3 separate regions of the Homo sapiens genome follow, and all the other regions are linked to region 2. Evidence: promoter capture Hi-C in 16 types of primary human blood cells and fetal thymus (Javierre and others, 2016). All regions are on one chromosome and are shown on one strand. The core of a region is centred on a gene start or on the middle of the fragment in contact, and the rest is flanking DNA. Distances in the headings are between cores, read along the strand shown. Region 1 has its middle 220 kb from the start of SNORD151. Region 2 holds the start of PKD1L1-AS1 (PKD1L1 antisense RNA 1). Region 3 has its middle 270 kb from the start of SNORD151.

Region 1 (4,085 bases), core at 1,326-3,825, 550 kb before region 2:
TTTCCAAGGCCACATGAACCTTTTGAAGCTTTACCCAGACCTAACACTTTGCTGACACACTGGGTGAACATTAGGCAGCACACAAAAAGTCATCATATGCAGTCCTTTTGACATTTTTAAAAATTTCAGGCTGGGCGTGGTGGCTCATACCTGTAATCCCAGCACTTTGGGAGGCCCAGGCAGGCAGATCACGAGGTCATGAGTTTGAGACTAGCCTGGCTAACATAGTGAAACCCTGTCTCTACTAAAAATACCAAAAATTAGCTGGGCGTGGTGGCACACACCTGTAATCCCAGCAACTTGGGAGGCTGAGGAAGGAGAATCTCTTGAAGATGGTAGACAGAGGTTGCAGTGAGCTGAGATCACGCCACTGCACTCCAGCCCGGGCGACAGTGCGAGACCCCATCTCAAAAAAAAATTTGTTTTCAAATAAATATGCATAAAGTGGTTATCAGAGACAGGAGCTCCTTGAGTGAGGCACAGTGATAGTTCCTAATATAGATGGCTCCACGGCCTCCTCTCCTTGCTCCTAAACACCACCCCTCCTTTGTCTTATTGGGGCCACATGACTTAACCCTGCCCATTCCTCTTACCTAGAGATGGGCTTCATGACAAGGCCGTTTCCCTAGACTCCACCTGCCCCACTGTGGCTAAAAATAAACCCTTGGAGCCAGCTGGCTCTGTCGCTCATCCTTTCTTTCCCCTCCCTCCCTTCCACCACCCTCCTCTCTCTTTCTCCTTGTCTCTCTCTCAAGGGATCACACCTGTAATCCCAGCACTTTGGAAGGCTGAGGTGGGTGGATCACCTGAGGTCAAGAGTTCGAGACCAGCCTGGCCAACATGGAGAAACCCCATATCTACTAAAAATACAAAAACTGATTGGGTGTGGTGGCGGACACCTGTAATCCCAACTACTCAGGAGGCTGATTAGGGAGGATCACTTGAACCTGGGAGGTGGAGGTTGCAGTGAGACAAGATTGTACCACTGCACTCCAGCCTGGGCAACAGAGTAAGACCCTATCTCAAAAAAATAAATAAATAAAAATTAAAAATTAAATAAAATGAAATAAAAATAAAGTGAAATACATGTAAAGAAATTGGATATCACCTCAAATCTCCAAGTTTTTCATGATAATTTTTCCTGGTTTTCTTTCTGAGCACTGCATGAAGTAGGCTACATACTTGCTTCCAAACAGAAAATGTCCTCAAAAGATGCACACTAATCTGATAATAATGGTAACCACCGGGAAAACAAGTGGAAATGGGTAGTGGTCAAGTGGAATTTGAGATCTAAGTGGATTGCACGGATGTTTTATGATAAGAATATATTCAAAATAAAATTAGAAGAAAATTGTTGGCTATGAGCTTCCTAGTATCCAGTGCAACTATTTATAGAATGAGGCATAAAATCCCTCAGGAGTGACCTGCCTGGTCTCAAAAGGGTTGTGTGACTTCAGGAACTATGAAGCCTAGTTGTGGGTTTCCATCTTGGCACCCAGGATGCTCCCCCTTCTTCCATGTTCCTCTTGGAGACCACTCCCTACTCTCAATTATGGTTTGCAGTGGTGGTGATGGGCCTGGTCGATCCAATCACTCCTCTGACCAGGTAAGAATCATCAAGACACAAAGAGACCTTGAGCTCCTGGGGAAGCCATTCTCATTCTGGAGAAGCTGAGAGGATGCCGGGCCTGCAGGGCTGTAGCCGGCATTGTCGCAGTAAAGATCTGTTGAGGCAGGCCTGTGCAAATAGTGTTGAACCAGCGATGGGAATGAGCTCCTGGTCAAACCACACAAAAAGGAGGATGACCTTTGAGGTGGGTACACCTCTATTTTCTCTTCTTTTCTTTCCTTTTGCATTCTTTCCTCTTTTTTAAAGCCAGTTTATGTTGGCTTTTCTGCCTATAGCGCCTGAAAGAGCACAGGGAAGCTTATCTTACTGCACCTGTAACTCACACCTCCAGAAGTGCAACCCAGCGTGAGCGGATTCCGACCCTTCACCCACGACCTCTTGGACAGCGTGCACAGAGGATGTTTCCTAGCCCTGGACAAAGCTCTCACCCTGTGACCTGCCATGACCAATTCAGGCAGGTGCTATCAGAGGCATTTGCTGGGATGTCCCACTGCTTTCTTTCCTTTCTGCTGTGAGCACAGGATGTTCCAGATTACAGAGAGCCCTGTGTCACCAGCTTCAGAATGTAGCAGTGTGGAGCAAGACACAAGGAACAGAGTTGCCCTCATGAGCCACTGACAGTCCCTACTAGCTAAGAAATATGCCTCTGGTGAGCAGTGGCATTGGCTGGCTTCTGTTGCATCAACTAATGACAGCTGATGAAAACACAACCCAACCAGACACCAGAAGAACAGGCCCTTGCCCCTCCCAGGATAGGTCCACTTGACTATCTCCTTGAAGCCACTTAGAAAGTTAAGGTGGCCTAAGCTTTTCTCAGATGCCTCCTCTGTCTCGGCAGAAGCAACTTTCAAAATTGACTTCACTGGCTGCATTAGCAATCAACACTCTGCAGAAACTGATCATTAAAAGTAAATAGTGAGACATTTTCCCTCACTATTTCCAACTTATTGTTTTTATCATGTGATAGAAAATTCTGGCATCTTAAAATATATACTTAAGAGAATACCACACACTGGTGGCTTTCGAGAACTAGCTCTTTTCTGAAGATGGGAAGAGTCCAAGAAACGAGAAATGACTGTCACCAAAGCTTTAGAAAAAAGAAAAAGTAGAAGAGTCTGTTTATGGTTCCTGGGCTAATGACTTCGGAGAGCTGTCAGTGTCAACAGAGCCAAGCACCACATGGGACAGAATTTGGTTCATTAGCAAATTATGGCTTGTGAGTACAAAAAAATAAATAATTTGCGCTGCAATGGAATTCCATACCCCAAGGAGCTCTGGGAAGATCGATGGGTGCTCTGCTCAAAGGGCTCTTCCAACCTCATGGGGCCTCCTGTCGGGTGTCCCACGTCCCCCATGGCCCTGGTGTGGCCACACTCATCTCCGTGCAAAGCAGAATGTGTGGGGGCACCCCTCACAGGGTAATTGGCCCAACCTTCATCTTCTACAGACGAAAAAAGAGGGCATGAGGCTGTGTAAACCCACAATCAAGTCACAGCCAAACCAGAGGCGAAACCCCAGCATCACAACACAGCCATTCATTGTTCTCCCATAAGCGCATCAGTAAACATGGTTTCCTCCAGGACTTCTTGTTGGAGCTGTAGGAGGTTGAGTCTTACATGCAGCCAGCTGACAGGGTGTGCCGTTGGGGGGAGTAGCTGAAAGATATGGAAATGCTCCTTCCTCATAACTGCCTGAAGCCCCCAGGACACTCCGAATAATGATTAAAATGTCTTCCATGTAAATTCAGCTTCTAGACTATCCTCTTGGTGCCTTCTTACACAAAATCCCGGAGCTGCCCTGGGGATGCTTGTAGTCTAGAGAGCTTCCTGGAAGGCAATGGGTTAAGGGGCTCCCAGTTTTCCTACCAAGGAGAGGAGGGATGGTGGTGTGAGAGATGGGGTGCTCAACAAGCATCTGTTGCCAGCAGAGCCCACCCTGCAGAGTAATAATTCCAAAGTACAGGGAAGAGGAGGCAGGGACCAGGCCTTGGACCTGCTCTGGTAGGAGCCATGCTCTCTCCCTGCCCCTCTCTCCAGGTCTCAGCTGCAAGGGACAGTGACTCAGGCCCTTTTCTCCCTACACATACCCCTGCTCTGTATAACCCAGGGTTCCCAGAACTTGTCTAACTCAATGGTTTGGGATCCCAGTTCTCCAAAGCTCCACGATTATTCCCAGAGTCCCCCAGCATGCCCTGAATACTTTCGACCAGCAAGCCAGGCCACACGGGCCTGGCAGTCCACTTCTTGCCACAAGCCCATGGCCACTTGTGGTGTGTCTGCCACTCCTGCCTCGCCTCACAGCAGCCTCTGCTAGGTGTCTCAAGGTATCCCGGGTACTGTCTTTCCAAGTGACTGAGACCCCTGTCACCATTGCTCTGAGCCCAAGAAATGCTCCTGGATGGATGGCCAGTCTCAGAGATGGCTGATGTCTTCTTCCCTGTGTGTGACACTTGCTC
Region 2 (4,332 bases), core at 1,586-4,085:
TTTTAAGTGGTTCTTTAGTTCTGGCCAGAGCATATCTTATCAGCAGTATGATATCTAAAGAATATTTATGCAAATGGACCTTATAATTTGGAAAAACAACTATTCCAAAACTCCTTTAGAACTTAAATTGCTATGAAGAAAATTGACATAAATAATTTTGCATGGTCTTACCTCAGCAGCTTGGTAACTAGAAATGTCCACTAAGGGACTCTCTTCTGTCCTTGCCTCCCCTGTGTTGTTGGATGTTTTTTCCAGAAGGGGGAGTTGTAGGCTGTCGGACAAACCATTAATCTTCATCAGAAGTTCGTCTAACAGATTTGCAAATTCATCCAAGTAGTAATTCTGAAGGGAAGAAAATTAGATTAGTAAATGCATTCAAGAATCTCATTATCCCCCTTTCCTCATTATGTGAAGCATTTAGGGGTATCATCTGTAGACAGTATTGGGCTATGTTAGGAAACATACTGACTCTGCCTGCAGTTAGAAGACCTGGGTGCTGGGCCTACTCTTACATCTCTATATCTCAGTTGCTTCAATAATAATGTACGTATACAGATATACATGTAAATGCTACAGTTAATAATGCCTACATAAAAAAAACTATTGAATGGATTTAAAGGCAGTAATGCATCATGCTGCTATGGGAAAATAAGGTCATTCTTTCATCCCTTCGATTAATAAATCTTTATTGAGCACTATTAAAAAAATAAGGCAATAATGGATGGGGAAGCACATGACAGAGAATAAAGCCCTATCAAAATGTACAGTACCGTGATTACATATGACTGCCTTCAGAACCTTACTGGATGATGCTTAAATATCACCTGATATGGTTTGGTTGTGTCCCCATTCAAATCTCAACTTGAATTGTATCTCCCAGAATTCCTGTGTTGTGGGAGGGACCTGGGGGGAGGTAATTGAATCATGGGGGCTGGTCTTTCCCGTGCTATTCTTGTGATAGTGAATAAGATCTCATGAGATCTGATGGCTTATCAGGTGTTTCCGCTTTTGCATCTTGCTCATTTTTCTCTTGCCACTGCCACGTAAGATGTGCCTTTCACCTCTCGCCATGATTCTGAGGCCTCCCCAGCCATGTGGAACTGTAAGTCCAATTAAATATCTTTTTGTCCCCAGTTTCAGTTATATCTTTATCAGCAGCTTGAAAATGAACTAAAACAGTAAATTGGTACCAGTAGAGTGGGGTGTTGCTGAAAAGATACCCAAAAATGTGAAAGTGACTTTGGAACTTGATAACAGGCAGAGGTTGGAACAGTTTGGAGGGCTCAGAAGAAGACAGGAAAATGTGGGAAAGTTTGGAACCTCCTAGAGACTTGTGGAATGACTCTGACAAAAATGCTGATAGTGATATGAAAAATAAAGTCCAGGCTGAGGTGGTCTCAGATGGAGATAAGGAACTTGTTGGGAACTGGAGCAAAGGTGACTCCTGTTATGTTTTAGCAAGAGACTGGCAGCATTTTGCCCCACCCTAGAGATTTGTGGAACTTAGAACTTGAGAGAGATGATTTTTAGGGTATCTGGCAGAAGAAATTTCTAAGCAGCAAAGCATTCAAAAGGTGACTTGGGTGCTGTTAAAAGCATTCCGTTTTAAATGGGAAATGGAACATAAAAGTTAAAGAAATTTGCAGCCTGACAATGCAGTGGAAAAGAAAAACTCATTTTCTGGGGAGAAGTTCAAGCCAGCTGCAGAAATTTGCATAAGTAGCAAGCAGCCTAATGTTAATCCCCAAGGCCATGGGGAAAATGTCGCCAAGTCATGTCAGAGACCTTCACAGCAGCCTCTCCCATCATAGGCCTGGATGCCAAGGAGGAATAAGTGGTTTAGTGGACTGGGCCCAGGTTCCCCGTGCTGTGTGCAGCCTAGAGACTTGGTGCCCTGTGTCCCAGTTGCTCCAGCCATGGCCGAAAGGGGCCATTGTACAACTTGGGCTGGGGCTTCAGAGAGTGGAACCCCCAAGCCTTGGCAGCTTCCATGTGGTATTGAGCCTATGGGTGCACAGAAGTCAAGAATTGAGGTTTAGGAACCTCAGCCTAGATTTCAGAAGATGTATGGAAATGCCTGGATACCCAGGCAAAAGTTTTCTGCAGGGGCGGGGCCCTTATGGAGAACTGCTAGGGCAGTGTGGAAGGGACCTAGTGGAGCTGTGAGAAGAGGGCCACCATCCTCCAGACTCCAGAATGGTGGATCCTCTGACAACTTGCACTGTGCACCTGGAAAAGCCACAGACACTCAATGCCAGCCCATGAAAGCAGCCAGGAAGGAGGCTGTACCCTGCAAAGCTACAGGGGCAGAGCTGCCCAAGACCATGGGAACCCACCTCTGGCATCAGCATCACCTACATGTGAGCCCTGGAATCAAAGGAGATCATTTTGGAGCTTTAAAATTTGATTGACCTGTTGGATTTTGGACTGGTATGGGGCCTGTAACCCCTTGGTTTTGGCCAATTTCTCCCATTTGGAACAGTTGTATTTACCCAATCCCTGTACCCCCATTGTATCTAGGAAGTAACTAACTTATTTTTTATTTTACAGGCTCATAGGTGGAAGGGACTTGCCTTGTCTCAGATGACACTTTGGACTGTGGACTTTTGGGTTAATGCTAAAATGAGTTAAGACTTTGGGGGACTTTTGGGAAGGCATAATTGGTTTTGAAATGTGAGGACATGAGATTTGGAGGGGGCCAGGAGCAGAATGATATTGTTTGGCTGTGTCCCTATTCAAATCTCAACTAGAATTATATCTCCCAGAATTCCCACATGTTGTGGGAGGGACCTAGTGGGAGGTAATTGAATCATAGGGGCTGGTCTTTCTCATGCTATTCTTGTGATAGTGAAGAAGTCTCACAAGATCTGATCATTTATAATGGGTTTCCACTTTTGCATCTGGATCATTTTTCTCTTGCCACCACCATGTAAGAAGTGCCTTTCACCTCCCACCATGAACCTGAGGCCTCCCAAGTCATGTGGAAATGTAAGTCCAATTAAACTTCTTTTTGTTCCCAGTTTTGGGTATGTCTTTATCAGCAGTATGAAAACAAACTAATATATCAGCCATGAAGAAAGTGAGTATTCAGTGTGCAAACGCCTGGTTTGATTTGTTTACATGCATGTCTGGGGTGACTGAACTCAAGTAATGCACCTAAGGCTCTATGTTTTGGATAGAAGTTTGGGTTTGATAGCAGGCACCAAAAGCAAATGACTAACTCAGGGGACAGAATACAGCATGTCTGTGTCCTGGGGAAGACCATAAACTCTGTCTTTCCAACTGTACAGGTCACTATAAGGATATAGTGAGTTAAGGCAGGAGAATGTGCTTGGTAATCTGTAAAGTGTTTTAGAATTGCACGGGAAAATTCCATGAGTTCCACTATGATTGAGACTAATTTTGTGGCTTTGCAAGGAGATTTGGCATGGAAACATACTCATGCTTTGATAACTGAAAGCAAAATTCTGCAATGAAACCATCATCTTGAGTGTGTGCTATCATGCTCAGTAATCCAAGATCTCACAGCTTACGTGATTCTCAACCATCTCAGCCTCTTCCAACTTTGGTGTTTCCAGTCTCAGAAAGGTGAGGACCTTTTCCCACATATAAGCAGTGACATCTTTAAGTCTCACAAAAGATTTACTTTGAAAAGATTTTCTTTTTTGGGGTAAAGTCATGAGAAAACCTCTCAGCTAGGAAAAAGAAAAAAATAAAGACAAATTTCATGTTAGCAGCCTAAATAAAGAGCTTTGTTAACGTGATAAACTATGCAATGGAGATTATATCTGATGATGCTACTTTACGAGCTTTTGGTAAAATAGTGATTTCTTGGTGAAAAAAAGCAAAATCAGGAAAATACCTCTCCTGAATTGAACTAAATGGCAGTAAGATGATCTCAGCAATGGAAATTCATTGTATTATAAAGGTTGTTTTCAGTATCTAACTTTGGAGACTGAGATTATCAACGCGATGTGCATGCCCATATGTAAAGTCTGTGTCTCAGTTTCAGTGTCCCCTGGTGAACCATTCTGAGCTGTGGGTGAGCCTCAGGAGAGAGGCCTGTGCCTGTGCCTGGGAGACCAGAAAGGGTCTTGGGCTCAGCAAGTTGTTGTGCCCTCAACATGTGCTCTATAAGCCTCCAGGTGGTTTATTTCTTCACTGCAGGCTGTAAGCTGTTAGCTCAAAAGCCTACTGGTAACAAACTCGAATTTTTACACATCCAATTGTTTAAAAAATAACCCAAACAGGGCTGGGCGCAGTGGCTCATGCCTGTAATCCCAGCACTTTGGGAGGCCAAGGCAGGCGGATCATGAGGTCAGGAGATTGAAA
Region 3 (4,262 bases), core at 1,676-4,175, 600 kb before region 2:
CTGAATGTCAACTGTAGGAATTAATTCCATAGACATGATTCAATTATCATCAATCATCTGTTTATTGTGTTTCTTCATTTGTTAATCTTTTTAAGTCCTGATTTAAAAAAAAAAAAACTGGTATTGTTAATAAGAAGAAACTCAAAAAACGGGTCCCAGTTTGTTTATACTTATTGATCTACACTGTCCGTGGGCACACCAACCACCGAGAAACTCCAGAATAGGTGAATTCCTGTTAATATTTCAACATGCCTCATAGGAATTTTATCACAGGAATGGACCTCAGGGAGTGTAGTCCCATTTTTGCTAAGGTCAAGGTGCCAGAGAATACTTGATTTCAAATCTCAGTCTTAGTAAGGTACTCATGCTTCAAGACACAGTTGAAATGTACCCTTCCATGCAGTCTGCCATGCTTACTAACTTGTGTTCAGAGCACTCAATCCCCCATGCCCAGAATCTGTGATCACTGGGTGTGCTGGGCACCTTAAAATAAGCTTTCATGATCTTCAGTAATTTCACTAGCAGATGACAGCCAAAAGCCTATGAGAGTTCAATGAGGCCCCTGAAATAAGTCTAATTCAAAATCAAAAGCTTTCCTGGAAGTTCTGTAAGCTGCATCACTTCAGTTTCTACACAGGCACAAACAGACAAACAGGAGGGAGAGGCAGCCTGCAAAGCTTTCTTTGCTTATTATACCACATGTCACTCATGTTAGACTTTGAACAACTATTTATAATAGATTTTAAAACACACCTGTATTACAGGGCCAGTTACACCATACTGTAATTTATTTTGCATGTCTAAGCCCCCTTTCAAAGAATCAGTGAAACTGTAACGGGGAGAAACTATGTCTGAGGCACATGTTCCTCCCCAAGCTTCAATCACAGAACTTGGCATAAAATAGACCTTCACAGCATAAATGATCTACTGCAATGGATGGCTAAAAATAGAGGTGGGGAGGGAATACAAGCACAATTTTTAGGAAATTAATTTTCAAAAAGTCACTGGAGTAGAGGAAGTCATTTACAATGTGTCACTCCACGTGAAAGCCCCTTGCATCCCCTTCTCTCTGTTCTCATTTTTTGTCCCTGCTCTCATTCACGTCTTCTCTTCCCTCCTGTCTTGGGGAGTTCAGGATCCTCATGTTCTAGGCTAGTCCCACTCACCTCTGCAGTTGATATTATTTCCTCCTACATCCCTTCGACAGTTATTTGACAAATCTCTTGGTGAGACCTTCTACAAAAATTGAGTGAGCTGGGTGGTATAATGGACTAAATTGTGTTCCCCCAAAATTCCTATGGTGAAGCCCTAACCCCTAATATAACTATATTTGGAGATAAGGTCTTTATGGAGGTAAATAAGGTTAAATGAGGTCCTAAGAGTGGGTCCCTAACCTGCTAGGACTGGTGGCCTTATAAGAATAGGAAGAGAGAAAAAGAGTAGGGTACTCTCTCCACCACCCCTGTATGCACAGAGAAGAGGCCATGTCAGGACACAGCAAGAAGGCAGCCGTCTACAAGCCAGGAAGTGAGCCCTCACCAGAAACCAACGATGGCACCTTTATCTTGTCATCTGAACTCCAGAACTGTGAAAAGATAAATTTCTGTTGCTTAAGCCACCCAGCCTATGATACTATGTTATGGCAGCCCAAGCCAACTAGGACAGATGGGGAGTGTGGGAAGTAAGTAAAGTGTTTGGAATACCTCCAGTGGGGGTAAAGAAAGAAATTATATATCCACTGAAGAGAAGGATTTCTTTGCAGTTCTTGAGGGCCCTGTTGGCTAGGATCACACACATCCTTCTGATTTCTCCCAAGTCTGTGACCACTTCCTTCTAGTGTCCTTAGCTAGCAACTCTCCTTCTGCTGTAAAATGTTAGGCTTCCCCTGTGGCCTTCCTGTCTCCCTTTACATAGGCTACACATGCTCCCTTAGTTGCCTTGTCACCTCCCTAGCATCAGCCACCACCACGTGTTAATGACCAACCTCCTGTGTCTTCTGTACAGCCTTCCTTCCCCAACTCCCAAATAGCATTTCCAACTCCTTACTAAGAGTCCCCCAGGTATTGAAAATTCAACATATCTAAAAGAAAACACATCATCTCTATCCCCTTAGACTGATCGTCCACTCAGCCCTCAGCACTTCCATGCTGCTGCTTGACCAGACAAAAAGCACTAGATCAATCCCTGGGCATCCCTGCCTTTGTTTATCATGTTTCTTTAACATCTTTGGTCCAGCCCAATTTACTCTTCTGACTGGATGATTGTGATACAGTCATCCTTTCTAGTCATATTCTTGGCTTCAATTCATTCCTCACATGACAGCTGCAATGCTCTTCTGATTACACTGCCCCACTGCTTAGTGCAGTTTAAGAGCCCAGGTTAAAGTCCAAACTGCCTGCCAGACCCTTCAGATCTGTCCCTGATTCATCTGCAGCCTCATCCCTCACCATTCCCCAGTGCTCACCTCCCAGTGTGTAGCATAAACTCACTTTGCTCATGGCTTCTCACATTCTACGCTTCTGCCTAACTGGCCCCCACCTTGACCCACTTTATATCGAACCAACCCATGTTGTCTTTCAAGAATCTCCTCCTAGGAAGTTTCTTCTAATTCCCTAGATGCTTAAGTCATTTTAGCTGTCTAAGGCCAGCTCACTATCAGTAGGATAGAGATAGTGTTTGACCCTATAGAGAGAGTAGTGTGCTGGCATGTTGTGGCTTATGTAGATAAACCCACAACTAAGTGCTCCTCCTAATGCCTGGTACCCACGTGCTCAATAAACGCTCACTGCTGATGTTTTTATTTTCATTTTTATTGTTACAATCATCTACTTTGTTCAACTTGGGCTGCAATGACAGAATACCGTGGACTAAGCATCTAAAATAACAGACATTTATTTTCTCACAGTTCTGGAGGCTGAAAGTCTTGATCAGAATGTCTGCAGCATGGTTGGGTTCTGGTGAAGGCCTTCTTCCTGACTTGCAAATGGTCACCTTCTCTCTGTGTCCTCACATGGCAGGGGGAAGGCGGAGAGGGAGAGAAAGAGAAAGAGAGATGAAGACAAAAAGTGAGTGAACTCTGGTCTCTCTTGTCTCTTCTTACAAAGACACTTAATCCTATCATGGGCCCACCCATCACCTCATCTAAATTCAATCTCCCCCAAAGACCCCACTTCCAAATATCACCCCATTGGGGGTTAGAGCTTCAACATATGAATTCGAGGGGGAATATTTAGTCCATAACATCGTCATTATGTGCTGCCATTTAGAGTTTGTCATAGTGACTGTCTTAGTCTACCTGTGCTGCTGTAACAAAATACCTGAAACTGGGTAATTTATAAAGAACAGAAATGTATTTCTCACAGTTCTAGAGAAAGGGAAATCCAAAATCAACATGCCAGCAGGTTCAGCCTTCTGGCGAGGGTCGAGTCTCTACTTCCAAGAGGGCACATTGAATGCTGCATCCTCCAGAGTGGAGGGACGCTGTGTCCTCACATGGCAGAGACCTCAGAAGGGCAAAAAGAGATGAACCACTTCCATCAAGTTTTTTCATAAGGGCATCTAATCCTATCATGAGAACAGAGCCCTCATGACCCAGTCACCTCCCAAAGACCTCATTTCCCAATATGGTTGCAGTGGGGATTAAGTTTCAACATAAATTTTGGAGGGACATGAACATTCAAACAATAGCATTTTGCTCCTGGCCCCCAAAGTTCACTTCTTTCTTACATAAAAAGAAAATGCAGTCACTCCATTTCAACAGCCCCAGTAGCCCCCAAGTCTTAATTTATCTCAGAATTAATTTTAAATTTTAAATCCAGTCTCATGTAAACATCATGTGGGTGAGACTCAAGGAACTATTCATCCTAAGGCTAATTTCCTCCCAGCTGTGAACCTGTAAAATCAAATTAGATATGTATTTCCAAAATACAATAGTGGGACAGGCATCCATGTTGTTACATAGATAAAAAGTGTTTACCACAAGTATACCGCAATTTACTTATTCATTCTCCTAGTGATAGACATTTGGGCTGTTTCCGGATTGGGGCTATTATAAATAATGCATCTATAAACATTTTCATACAAAACTTTTACAAGAAATACTTACATTAGAACATTTTCATTTCAAAAGAGAGAAATAAGAAGAAAGAAATGACAAGTCCGAAACACAACAGAGCAAACATTAAATCTTAAGGCTAGAGAATAATTTTCTTTGAGTCCATGTATCACCTTCCAGACATACTGGGGCAGAGATTTGCCCTCAA

The links. Contacts are between HindIII fragments. The CHiCAGO score rates a contact against its expected background, and 5 or more counts as called.
Region 1: a contact is called between a fragment that was not itself captured here and the fragment with the promoter of PKD1L1-AS1 in region 2, in 4 of 17 cell types (erythroblasts, total B cells, fetal thymus and 1 more). The highest score is 7.2, in erythroblasts.
Region 3: a fragment that was not itself captured here is called in contact with the fragment with the promoter of PKD1L1-AS1 in region 2 in 1 of 17 cell types (fetal thymus); the score reaches 5.1 in fetal thymus.

The regions. Positions count from the first base shown.
Region 1 is chr7:47,242,672-47,246,756 of GRCh38, forward strand. No RefSeq gene overlaps it. Among named protein-coding and RNA genes, the nearest start is that of SNORD151, 220 kb to the right of the region's middle. The HindIII fragment of the contact is 280 bases long and covers 2,436-2,715 here.
Region 2 is chr7:47,792,456-47,796,787 of GRCh38, forward strand. It overlaps PKD1L1-AS1 (PKD1L1 antisense RNA 1), which reads left to right and starts at 2,836. Exons shown (of 4, transcript NR_161269.1): 1 at 2,836-2,988. It overlaps PKD1L1 (polycystin 1 like 1, transient receptor potential channel interacting), which reads right to left. Exons shown (of 57, transcript NM_138295.5): 55 at 3,534-3,695; 56 at 172-342. The HindIII fragment of the contact is 8,231 bases long and covers 1-4,332 here.
Region 3 is chr7:47,196,010-47,200,271 of GRCh38, forward strand. No RefSeq gene overlaps it. Among named protein-coding and RNA genes, the nearest start is that of SNORD151, 270 kb to the right of the region's middle. The HindIII fragment of the contact is 4,105 bases long and covers 874-4,262 here.